4 separate regions of the Homo sapiens genome follow, and regions 1, 2 and 3 are each linked to region 4. The links are contacts of gene promoters, found by promoter capture Hi-C in blood cells and fetal thymus (Javierre and others, 2016). All regions are on one chromosome and are shown on one strand. Each heading gives the region's core, a stretch centred on a gene start or on the middle of the fragment in contact. The rest is flanking DNA. Distances are from core to core; before and after follow the strand shown. Region 1 overlaps CUX2 (cut like homeobox 2). Region 2 overlaps CUX2 (cut like homeobox 2). Region 3 overlaps CUX2 (cut like homeobox 2). Region 4 holds the start of MYL2 (myosin light chain 2).

Evidence for each region. The method cuts DNA at HindIII sites, captures the fragments that hold promoters and counts their contacts. A CHiCAGO score of 5 or more calls a contact.
Region 1: a fragment that was not itself captured here is called in contact with the fragment with the promoter of MYL2 in region 4 in 1 of 17 cell types (M2 macrophages); the score reaches 6.1 in M2 macrophages.
Region 2: a contact is called between a fragment that was not itself captured here and the fragment with the promoter of MYL2 in region 4, in 1 of 17 cell types (endothelial precursors). The highest score is 5.6, in endothelial precursors.
Region 3: a contact is called between a fragment that was not itself captured here and the fragment with the promoter of MYL2 in region 4, in 1 of 17 cell types (endothelial precursors). The highest score is 5.2, in endothelial precursors.

The regions. Positions count from the first base shown.
Region 1 is chr12:111,350,428-111,353,254 of GRCh38, forward strand. It overlaps CUX2 (cut like homeobox 2), which reads left to right. Exons shown (of 22, transcript NM_015267.4): 22 at 1-127. Among named protein-coding and RNA genes, the nearest start is that of PHETA1, 17 kb to the right of the region's middle. The HindIII fragment of the contact is 4,968 bases long and covers 1-2,827 here.
Region 2 is chr12:111,264,417-111,267,353 of GRCh38, forward strand. All of the region lies in intron 4 of CUX2 (cut like homeobox 2), which reads left to right. Among named protein-coding and RNA genes, the nearest start is that of MIR6760, 38 kb to the right of the region's middle. The HindIII fragment of the contact is 1,503 bases long and covers 867-2,369 here.
Region 3 is chr12:111,220,837-111,223,728 of GRCh38, forward strand. The region is part of intron 3 of CUX2 (cut like homeobox 2); the gene reads left to right. Among named protein-coding and RNA genes, the nearest start is that of MIR6760, 82 kb to the right of the region's middle. The HindIII fragment of the contact is 752 bases long and covers 1,033-1,784 here.
Region 4 is chr12:110,919,329-110,922,067 of GRCh38, forward strand. MYL2 (myosin light chain 2) reads right to left here and starts at 1,251. Exons shown (of 7, transcript NM_000432.4): 1 at 1,199-1,251. The coding sequence starts at 1,201. RefSeq lists an enhancer at 1-2,059. The HindIII fragment of the contact is 13,220 bases long and covers 1-2,739 here.

The DNA.
Region 1 (2,827 bases), core at 218-2,717, 430 kb after region 4:
AACGGTTAAAAAACACACACACACATACACAAACCGTTTCTATGAGAGATTGATGAACTTTGTTTAAAATTTTAAAAAAAGGAACACGTTCTGTAAACGAGTCGCTAAATACAGAATTGTATAATAATTCTGGGTGTCTTGCTTCTTTGTTCTGGGGCTAGGAGTACAAACTGGAGGTCAGATCTGGCCCTCAGAGATGTTTTACAAAATGGTATTTTTTAAAACTAGTTTTTAAGGCACAATGGCTCACACCTATAATCCCAGTGCTTTGGGAGGCCAAGGTGGGAGGATTGCCTGAGCCCAGGAATTTGAGGCTGCAGTGAGCTATGATTGCCAGTGCATTCCAGCATAGACAGAGAGAGACCCTGTCTCTAAAAAAAAAAATTTAAGCCTGGTTTCTAAATTGCCAACATTGGCTGGGCATGGTGGCTCAGGCCTGTAATCCCAGAACTTTAGGAGGCCAAGGTGGGAGGATCACTTGAGGCCAGGAGTTTGAGACCATCCTGAGCAACACGGTAAGACCCTCCTCTCTAAAAAAAAAAAAAAAATGGCCAACATTTAATGGGCATGTCCCATTAAAAAGCATGATTATGAGCTTCTCCAGGAAATAGTCAAGATCTTGGCCACACTGGGCCCACGTTCCAATGTGACAACAGCCAGATGAGGGCTGGCTGCCTTTAGATGGGGCACATGCCCATGATTTGCTTCAGCCCTCAACTGTGCAACCTGCCTGGGCCTTGTGGGCATCTGGGTTGGCAAGTGTGCCTTGTGGACCAGCCTGCAGCAGAGTAGAAGCTGCTCAGACTCCAGGGCCTGGTATGAGGAGTCAAAACTGCACTCTACCCCTAAACCAGCAAGTGAACCAGCTTGCAAGCTGTGCCCACCTCTGTACAGTGTGTGAGTGGTTAGTGCCCCCAGGCCCGATGGGAAAATGCCAAGAGGGGCTTCCTGTTGACCAACATAGCATCACACCTTTCCTAGTTGTATAACTGGGGCCTCAGTTTCCTCATCTGCAAAATGGGGGTATCACAGCAGCCAACTCAGAAGGTCATTGTGAATAATATACATGCATATGCATATGCGTAAAACTGCACGGCAGTAAGAACTCGATAACTAAATACAAAAATTAGCCAAGCATGGTGGTGGGCACCTGTAGTCCCAGCTACTCAGGAGGCTGAGGCACGAGAATTGCTTAAACCCATGAGGCAGAGGCTGTAGTGAGGCAGAGGCTGTAGTGAGCCATTGCGCCACTGCATTCCAGCCTGGGTGGGCAGAGTGAGACTTTTTTTTTTTTTTTTTTTTTTTTGAGACGGAGTCTCGCTTTGTCGCCTAGGCTGGAGTGCAGTGGCGAGATCTCAGCTCACTGCAAGCTCCGCCTCCCGGGTTCACGCCATTCTCCTGCCTCAGCCTCCCGAGTAGCTGGGACTACAGGCGCCCGCCACCACCGCCGGCTAATTTTTTGTATTTTGTTTAGTAGAGATGGGGTTTCACCATGTTAGCCAGGATGGTCTCGATCTCCTGACCTCGTGATCCACCCGCCTCGGCCTCCCAAAGTGCTGGGATTACAGGTGTGAGCCACCACGCCCGGCCAAGTGAGACTATTAAAAAAAAAAATGCCAGGCGCAGTGGCTCACATCTGTAATCCCAGCACTTTGGGAGGCCAAGGCAGGTGGATCATGAGGTCAGGAGTTCGAGACCAGCCTGACCAACATGGTGAAACCCCATGTCTACTAAAAATACAAAAATTAGCTGGGCGTGGTGGTGTGCACCTATAATCCCAGCTACTCAGGAGGCTGAGACAGGAGAATCGCTTGAACCCAGGAGGTGGAGGTTACAGTGAGCCAAGATCGTGCCACTGCACTCTAGCCTGGGCGACAGAGCAAGACTCCATCTCAAAGGAAAAAAAGAAAAAACTCGGTAACTATTAGTTATTGTTATTGTAAGTAGGGGGTAGGTTCTTCCAGCCTATGATAGTGAGTCTCTGTGCATCAGGCTGCAGGAGGGGTTTTTTTGTGACCTATGATGTCAGGAGAGTCCCTGAAGTGGCACTAAACATTACTCACCCATGAGCCCAGCCATGTGGCTGTCCCAAGACAGCCCTTTTCCCTTTGTCTGGAAATCTTCCAATTGCCCCAGTTTTTCCGTATATCCTTGCAGGGAGCGTTAAACAATTACCCCCGTCTCGGTTAGGATAACTAATTGCTCCAAGCCCAGCAGGACAGCCCACTGGGATGCCTGGGCACCCCATCATGGAGTGGTGGGAGTGGGAGGTGGCAGGTCAGGGCCCAGGCCCCCATCAGCCCTGGAGCTCCTGAGTCAGCCCATTGCATGTGACATTTCAGGCGAATGGATGGCCTGTCCTCAGAGCTGGGGAGGAAGATGGGAGTCAAGAGCCAAATGGCCTGGTTTCAACTCTGGCTCCGCCTCTTAGAGCTGTGTGGCCTTGGGCAAATGCTTAAACTACACAGTGCCTCAGTTTCCCAGCCATAAAGTGGAGGCGGTAGGAATGGCATCTTGCTCACAAGGTGGTTGTAAAGATTCAAATTAAACAAAACCAAAGAATACCCTTTCAGACCCTCAGTTCATTCACAGCTCTTGAGAAGGTTGGAGGTCAGAAACCCCCAGGGTGTGGCCCCCTGTGGGACCAGGCTGGCAGGAGTGGAGTCTGGCACCACGCAAGCCACCTGAGAACCCGAGGGAGCAGGTGCCTGTGGGCTTCAGGGACTGAAGCATGTTCTGGGTCATCAGCTTTGGTGTTGACAGGGTGTCTGCCACCACTGCCCTGGAGTGAAACAGGCAGCAACAGCGCAGCAAAATGTGGAATTCT
Region 2 (2,937 bases), core at 368-2,867, 350 kb after region 4:
GGGAGTATTACTCCCTTTCCATGAAAAGGCATGGAGGGCCGGGTACAGGGGATCACGCCTGTAATCTCAGCACTTTAGGAGGCCGAGGTGGGCCGATCACCTGAGGTCAGGAGTTCGAGACCAGTCTGGCCAACCCAGCGGTTTTAGTAGAAATCCCATCTCTACTAAAAATACAAAAATTAGCCAGGTGTGGTGGTGGGCACCTGTAATCGCAGCTGCTCGGGAGGCTGAGACAGGAGAATCGCTTGAACCCAGAAGGTGGAGATTGCAGTGAGCTGAGATCATGCCTGCACTCCAGCCTGGATGACAGAGCAAGACTGTCCTCTGTCTCAAATAAAAAAGGAATGGAGCTGTGATATGTGCTTCAGTGAAGATGAACCTCGAAAACACAGTGCTGAGTGAAGGAAGCCAGAAACCAAGGCCACATAGTGTAGGATTTCATTTACATGAAACATCCAGAACAGGCAAGCCGTAGATAAGAGTCGATTGTTGGTTGCCCGGGGCTGGGGAGGGAGATTGGAGAGTGACTGCTTAATCGGTATGAGTTTCTTTTTGGGGGATAAAAATATTCTGGAACTAAGTGAACAAGTGGTTGTAGAACATCAAGAATGTACTAAATGTCATTGAATTGTTCACGTTAAAATGATAAATTTTCTGTTGTATGAATTTCACCTTAATTGAAAAAAAAAGTCAACCTGTACTATTGGAAATCAAGATAGTGGTTTCAAACACTTGAAGGGGGCCAAGAGTTCCTGGGAGGGGCCTCTGGGTGCTGGGACTGTGGTTTCTCGGTCCTGGTTTGGGTTACAGTTTGAGAACATTTGGTTGTACACAAAGGATCTATACATATGCCAGACATCCATAAAAGCTTCCCCTATTTTATTTTATTTTATTTTTATTTTATTTTATTTTATTTTATTTTATTTTATTTTATTTTATTTTTGAGACAGGGTCTTGCTCTGTTGCCCAGGCTGGAGTGCAGTAGCGCGATCTCAGCTCACTGCAACCTCCGCCTCCCGGGTTCAAGCAATTCTCCTGCCTCAGCCTCCCGAGTAGCTGGGATTACAGGCATGCACCACCATTCCCGGCTAATTTTTTGTATTTTTAGTAGAGACAGGGTTGCCCTATGTTGGCCAGCCTGGTCTCAAACTCCTGGCCTCAAGTGATCCGCCCACCTCAGCCTCCCAAAGTGCTAGGATTACAGATGTGAGCCACCGCACCCGGCCAAAACTTTCCCTTGTTTTAAATGGCCCATCCCCTGCTACCTTCTCATTTACTGACCCAGAAACAGGAGCCCAAAGAGTTGAAATGATCTGCTTACCAATGGCAGAGCCCGGAGGAGGCCTTGCTGTGCTAACTCTCCCCACCCAGACCTCTCCCAGTCCTTTCCCCCATCCTTCCACACAGTGGCAGGAATCAGCACTACGGGAGGTGTTTGAGGCTGGGGGCCTGTGAAGAGGAAAATGACATCCCACCCTCAGCTGTCCGACTGCAAAACCCAAACCACAGAGAACACAGAGTCATTTAGATTAGATGTCAAGGTCATTTCTGGGATCTTTGTATTTGGGGTGGGAAAGTCCACTGTTCCTCTGTCTGGGGCAACTGTAGTGGGTTGGATAGTGTGGCCTCCAAAATTTATGTCTACGTAGAACTTCAAAATATGACCTTATTTGAAAATAAGTCTTTGCAGATGTAATTAGCTAAGGATCTCAAGATGAGATCATCCTGGCTTTAGGGTGAGCCCTAAATCCAATGACTGGTGTTGTAAGAAGTATGGGGCCAGGCACAGTGGCTCAAAGCCTGTAATCCCAGCACTTTGGGAGACAGAGGCAGGAGGATCACTTGAGGTCAGAAGTTCAAGACAACCCTGGTCAACATGGGGAAACCCCATGTCTACTAAAAATACAAAAATTAGCCAGGTGTGGTAGCCTGTATTCCCAGCTACTCAAGAGGCTGAGGCAGGAGAATCGCTTGAACCCAGGAGGCGGAGGTTGCAATGAGCCGAGATCACAACACTGCACTCCAGCCTGGGTGACAGAGCAAGACCCTGTCTCAACAAAAAAAAAAAAAAAAGAGACGAGGGTACAGAGATAGCCACTGAGGAAAGCTGTGTAAAAACAGAGGCACGGTGGAAATGATGTAGCTACAAGGCAAGGAGCACCAAAGATTGCCAGCAACCATGAGAAACTGGGAGAGACAAGAAGGATCCTTCCCTAGAGTCTTCAGAAGGAGTACAGCCCTGCCAGTGTCTTGATGTTGGACTTATGGTCCCCAGAACTACAAGACAATAAGTGTCTGTTGTTTTCAGCCCCCAGTTGGTGGTGCTTTTCTACTGCAGCGCTGGGACACTAATCCAGCAATGCTGACAAAGCTTGCCCTCCGACAGCGTGTGGCCTGGATGAAGAGGGAGGTCTTCTGGCCTGTTGCTACTCAAAGTGTGGTCTGTGGACCAGAAACATCAGCCTCACCTGCAAGCTGGTTAGAAATGCAGAGGCTCAGCCGCAGGTGGCGGCTCATGCCTGTAATGCCAGCACTTTGGGAGGCCCAGGTGGGAGGATCACTTGAAGCCAGGAGTTTGAGACCAGCCTAGGCAACATGGAGAAACCCTGTCTCTACAAAAAAAATACAAAAATTATCTGGGCATGGTCGTGGGCGCCTGTGGTCCTAGCTACTTGGGAAGCTGTGGTGGGAGAATTGCTTGAACCCAGGAGGTGGAGGTTGCAGTGAGCTAAGATTGTGCCACTGCATTCCAGCCTGGGTGACAGAGCAAGACCCTGTCAAAAAAAAAAAAAAAAAAAAAAGAAAGAAAGGGAGGGAGGGAGGAAGGAAGGACTACAGAGTCTCAGGCCCCATCCCCGGCCCACAGAATCAGCTTCTGCATTTTATCAAGCTCCCCTGTGATCTTGGAGCATGGGAAAGTTTGAGCGCACAGGCCTG
Region 3 (2,892 bases), core at 159-2,658, 300 kb after region 4:
GAGGTGGGAGGATCACTTGAGCCCAGGAGTTCAAGGCTGTAGTGAGCTATGATTATACCATTTCTTTCTAGTATGGGCAACAGAGCGAGACCTGGTCTCTTAAAAAAAAAAAAAAAAAAAAAAAAGGAAAAAGGATTCAAACACTTCAGCAGCATGGAGGCAGTCCCAGGGTCTGGCACACCGTTGGTGCTCAGTAAATACTAGGACAGAGAAAGTCTTAGGCCAAAAGGAAAGACAAAGCAGAATTCTCATTTTCAAAACCCATGTGGCATATTGAATAGATGCTGCTTTAATAGCTGGAGACCTTAAAGAACTTTGTTAATTTTCTTAAGAGGGCTTTCCATCGTCCCTTTAATGTACCAAGAAGACTACATTTGTCTGGAATTTTATTCCCGAAACCCCTGCTTTTCTCGTGATCTATTGACTAAGCCATTGTGGCCTCTGTGTCCTCCTTGTGCCTCAGGGGAGAGACGCTGCCAAAGGAAGGTGTTAATAAAAAGCATCTTCTTCGTCCAGAAAAAGCTGCACATGCACAGGCCATTTATAATCCAAATTTGATTTTCATTTTAATTTTTTTAATGAGGCCTCATCCTTTATGCCGCTGTCCTCTTGCAATCCACCAGGCTCTGGGCTGGCACTGCGATTCCCAAGTGGGTATTAATCACCTCCTGGAAATATTCCCTGGAGCAAATACCATCCCAAGTCACATAAACTAGCCCATAAAACGCCAGGGCAGAATATCATGCCCGTCATTCCTTCTTCCCAGTGCAGGCCTTTCCTTGAAATATACCATGTTCAGTTTCATGGTAAGTACCATGAAATATACCATGTTCAATAAAATATACCATGTTATTCCTGAATTTTGCTTCACCAGCCCTGGTGTGTTCAGAATCTGGGCATACTTCTTATCTTTTTATATTATATATGTGTGGGTCTCTTTTCTTTCTTTCTGTGTGTGTGTGTGTTTGTGTGTGTGCGTGCCGGTGGGAGGGGGTGGAGAGGAAGTGAATTTGCCCTGCTGTGAATCAAGGAAGCTTCTCTGTCTGCCTTGATTGCTTAAAGGACAGTTTAGATTTCTCCTGTTCAGGGAAACAAAGACAGCCAGAGAAGGTGGCTTAATGGAGACAGCTTGAAATGGCCAAAGTTTGAATATCCTTGCGTACAGAGAAAAGAGCAAGACGAAAGCCTCGCTAATTATAAAAGTTGCTTTATGAAAGATAATTCAAAGCAATAATTTAGCAAACATAATCAAGTCGCACAGATGGGGTTGTTGATGGATGGATTGCAACATGCAATTAGCAGTTCTCGCAGTTACATATCATTAACCCTCCGAGCACAAAAATTATTTTCTCATTATTAGTTGAAAAGGTAAAATTAAGCTGACTAGACAGTAAAGGAACAAACTACAATTAATTACCTTCATTTATTACAGTCATTATTTTAAACTTATTTTTACTTGGAGGGAGACATGAAAACATCTAAATTAAAAGTTTTGTTATGCTAACTCGGAGGTGAAACTTTTCTGAAGCGCGTGTGCACTGTCCCAGCTTGAAAGACCACAGGGCCACTGTTGGGAGATTTTCTTTTTCTCTGCCGCCTTTTTCTTCCACCATAAAGGGGATGTGGCCTGTATGGTGGAAAACCTTTTGGGTTGGATTGGAACAGAGACATTCACCTGGGCCTGATTGAAACACAGTAGTTTGGAGACCAAGTGGGCTGACCTGGCCTCTGACACCCAGGAGAGGTTAGACACCTGTGGTCTGAGCCCCACCCTCACACTGACAAGCTTATGTGACCTTGGCGAGTGACTTTATGTCTCTGAGCCACTGTTTCCTCATCTGTAAATAGGGTCAGCTCATAGGATTGCATGAGATTCAGTGACATTCTGTGTGTCAAGTGGCCAGTGAGTCACTTGTTGTCACCATGGTGGGCGTGCATGGTTGTGTGGGACTGAGAACGTTCTCCCTCTAATCACTCAGGGTCTGGGGGAATTCGTGTGGCATGATCACCTTCTAGGAGCTTAGAGAAGGGGGTAAAGATGCATTAGATCATCACTTGAGCCCATGTAATCATTTAGTCACCTCAACAAGCATTTATTGAATAGCTGCTGCATACTAGGCAGGGTTCCAGATGCTGGCCCAGTGATGGTCACAACCCAGTGGTCACCTCGCCTCCTTTTGGTATGAGGGAGAGCAAGCATTTTTGCAGTACCCGGAAGAAGGACTTCCCAAAGGAGACAAGGCCACCCTTCTATTGGCAGCGTGCAGGTCCGCTCAACAGATCCTTGTGGAGAACCTTCTATGTCCCAGGCTCTGTGTGAGGACTGTTGCAGATCCAAAGATGGTGAGACACCATCCCTGCCCTCAAGGATGTCCCTAGGATTCCGCATGGAATCCTTTAAAGAAAGAAAAAGAAAAAATGTCTGTAGGAGCCAAGTCCCTGTGATTCTGAAATAATGTCCAGAAGCCCAAGGGAGGCCGTCGGTTCCATCCCAGAGGTTCTATTTGTTTGCTGCGCTTCACATTGACACCCTGCCCCGATGACAGCCACGGCAGTATCTCCATCCCATGCACATCTGCCGTGTGTCCCTGCATTCCCCTGCCAAGAGATGGAGTCTGTGTCTCCATCCTTTGAATCTGGGCCTGTGCCTACTTTGACCAGTAGAACATGGTGGAGGTGACACTGTGCCATGATCCAGCATAGCCTTTAGCCTACCTGCTGGCTCTCCCCACCACATCTCTCCAAACCCATCCTTTATGTGAGAAGTGTGACTACCTGGAGACCACCCTGCATGGAGAGGTTCTGGGGGATAAGACAGCACATGGCGGAGAGGCCAGGAGTGCTGAGGTACCAGACTGGAGTCAGGGGCCATGGTGGACATCCAACCCAGTC
Region 4 (2,739 bases), core at 1-2,500:
ACTCAGGTCTCCAAACGGTGATGCTGGAGGGAGCAAAGGACATGACATGAAGTTTCTCCAGAGCCCTCTGGTACCAGTGGATCATAAGCGTTTGTGCATCTTGCAGTGGCTCCTTCACCAACTAGGAGAAGCCACAGGTGTGTCCCTGGGGATGGAGGCCACACCTTCAGATCGCCCCTGCAGGATCCAGCCACTTTTGTTCTGATGCATTTCACAAAAAGCTCAGTAATGCACAGAAGGAGAATTGATTGGAGGGAAAGAAAAAGTCAGGCTCACTAAGCCATGATGAATGCCAAGATGAAATGACAGTTCTTCAAGGTGTTAAAACCCAACTGCGCCCCACACCCCACAATTTTCCCTTGCTCCAAATGGCAGCAAAACCTCCTCTCTGAATGCTCCGTCCTTGCACCACATCAATAGGGCAGAGAAGAGCGAGTTGACCTTTCTTCCCCACCCCACTTCTCTCTGACTTTCAATAACAGCAAATGATTCGGTACTCTACATATGTATTATTTAATTCTCATAACCACTCTGTCAAGTGGATACTATTATTATCATCCCCATTTTACAGGAGAGGCAACTGAGGCTCAGAGAGGTTGGGTCACTTGCCCAAGATCACACAGCCACACACACAGAAGGCAGAGCCGGAGTTGAACTTGGGCGTTGAACTTGGGGAGTTGAACTTGGGCATTCTGACTCCAGAGTTCCTGCCTCTAACCACTCTCCCTCCTGTGCTGACCCTGATTTGGGGACTGCCCACTTCAGGAGGGGGACACCTAACCCAACAGCACAGAAAGAAAGGTTTTAAATTTGCAAGTTCAAAAGGTGAAAACAAAAACATTCTTTTTCCCAGCTGCCTGAACAAGAGAAAAGAATTACAATTTGATCCTTAAAAGCATTCAATCCCATTTTGCAAGTCCTGGGAGTTATTGATTCCTCGAGAGGTCAGTAGACAAGCCATAAAAAAGCCAACTCTCTTATTTTGTGTTTGTGAGTCCCCGAGAGCTGCTGTTATTTGTGGCCTATCGGGGCATTGATTGGGGTTCCTCTGTGCCCGCGCAGTCAATGGGGCTTTTTCCACAAGGGGCTGGAGGCTTTGAGGGCCGCCTTCCTCCCCCTCCGCCGTGGTCCCTCGCTTGTAGTGGCTTCCTCTCCTCGCCCACCCGGCATCATCACCTCCTGGAGCCCTTGTACTCACCATGGTGGAAAGGACCCAGCACTGCCTCCCGAGAAGAATTCCACACTCCGCCCAGCTCTCTGCAGCCCAGGAACAATAAATACTTCCTCCCCATGTTTAAAAATAACCCCATGACCGCTTTTGGCAGTCATAGGTGAGGCGGGCACCACCTAAGGCCCCCCCACCCCATGCCGTTCTTCTGAAGTAAGGGTGGCTCACTCGCCACTGGGTGACACGTGAGCCCCCAAAAAGGCATTCAAGGTTAAAGAGGCAGTAGCTGGGTCATGGTCACGGGGAGAGATGCTGCGCGCTCTCTGCGGTGCTTGGGCCGGGGACACTTGTGCTTGTCAATTTTGAGAAAAAAAATGGCAGGGAGAGGAGACTGCTAAAATGCTCTGTTTTATCAGCCTGGATCTGGCCTCAGGGTCTTTGCACCTGTGTGCCCTCTACCTGGAATGTCTTTCTGTCAGTCATCGCACGGCTCCTTCCTTCACCTCCTTCACTGCATCTTTGCTCATATGTCATCTCCTGAGTGAAGCCTCCCCGACCACCATCTTTAAAATAACCATGAAGGCTGGCACTGTGGCTCATGCCTGAAATCCCAGCACGGCGGGAGGCCGAGGCGGGAAGATTGCTTGAGCCTAGGAGTTTGCGACCAGCCTGGGTGACATAGGGAGATGCCTGTCTCTACGCAAAAGAAAAAAAAATAGCTGTGCGTGGTGGTGCATGCCTATAGTCTCAGCTATTCAGGAGGCTGGGACAGGAGGATCACTTGGGCCCGGGAGGTTGAGGCTGTGGTGAGCCACGATCACACCACTGCACTCCAGCCTGGGTGACAGAGCAAGACCCTGTCTCAAAACAAACAAATAACACAGCCACGCACCTCCTGCGCTCCGATCTCCCTTCTTTGTTTCTCTGCACAGCGTGAGGCAGTCCCGAACACTGCCCACAGTGCACTGACTCATTTTCTTCAGCATCTGTGGAGCGTCAGCTCAGAGGGCAGGGATCACTTTAGTTTCCCTCACCACTGACTGTCTCCCCAGCTCCCAGCTCATGATGCACACAGCAGCAGCTCAAAAATAAATATTTGTTGACTGAAGAAATGACAAATCTCATTGACTGAGCACTGGCACGTGCCGGACACTATGTGCTCATGGCTCCCACACATAATTTTCCAGCCACCCTAGAGGGTGGGGACCACCTCATCATCCATGCCCCCATTTTACAGATGCGGAAACAAAAGCTCAGAGAGGCGAAGTGAGCTGCCCAGGGTCACACAGTGATGGAGCTAGGCGTGGACCCCTCTGGAGGCCCCTTTGTCTCCAGAGTCCAGGCTCTTTAAGAGCCTTGAAAACAGCAGCTGCTCTCAGAATGCAAGGTGTCATTATATAATACTTTTACTGAAGACAGCTTTCCTGCTGGGTGCAGTGGCTTATACCTGAAATGCCAGCACTTTGAGAGGCTGAGGCGGGTGGATCACTTGAGTCAGGAGTTCAAGACGACCTTGGCCAACATGATGAAACTTGTCGCTACTAAAAATACAAAAATTAGCCAGGCGTTGT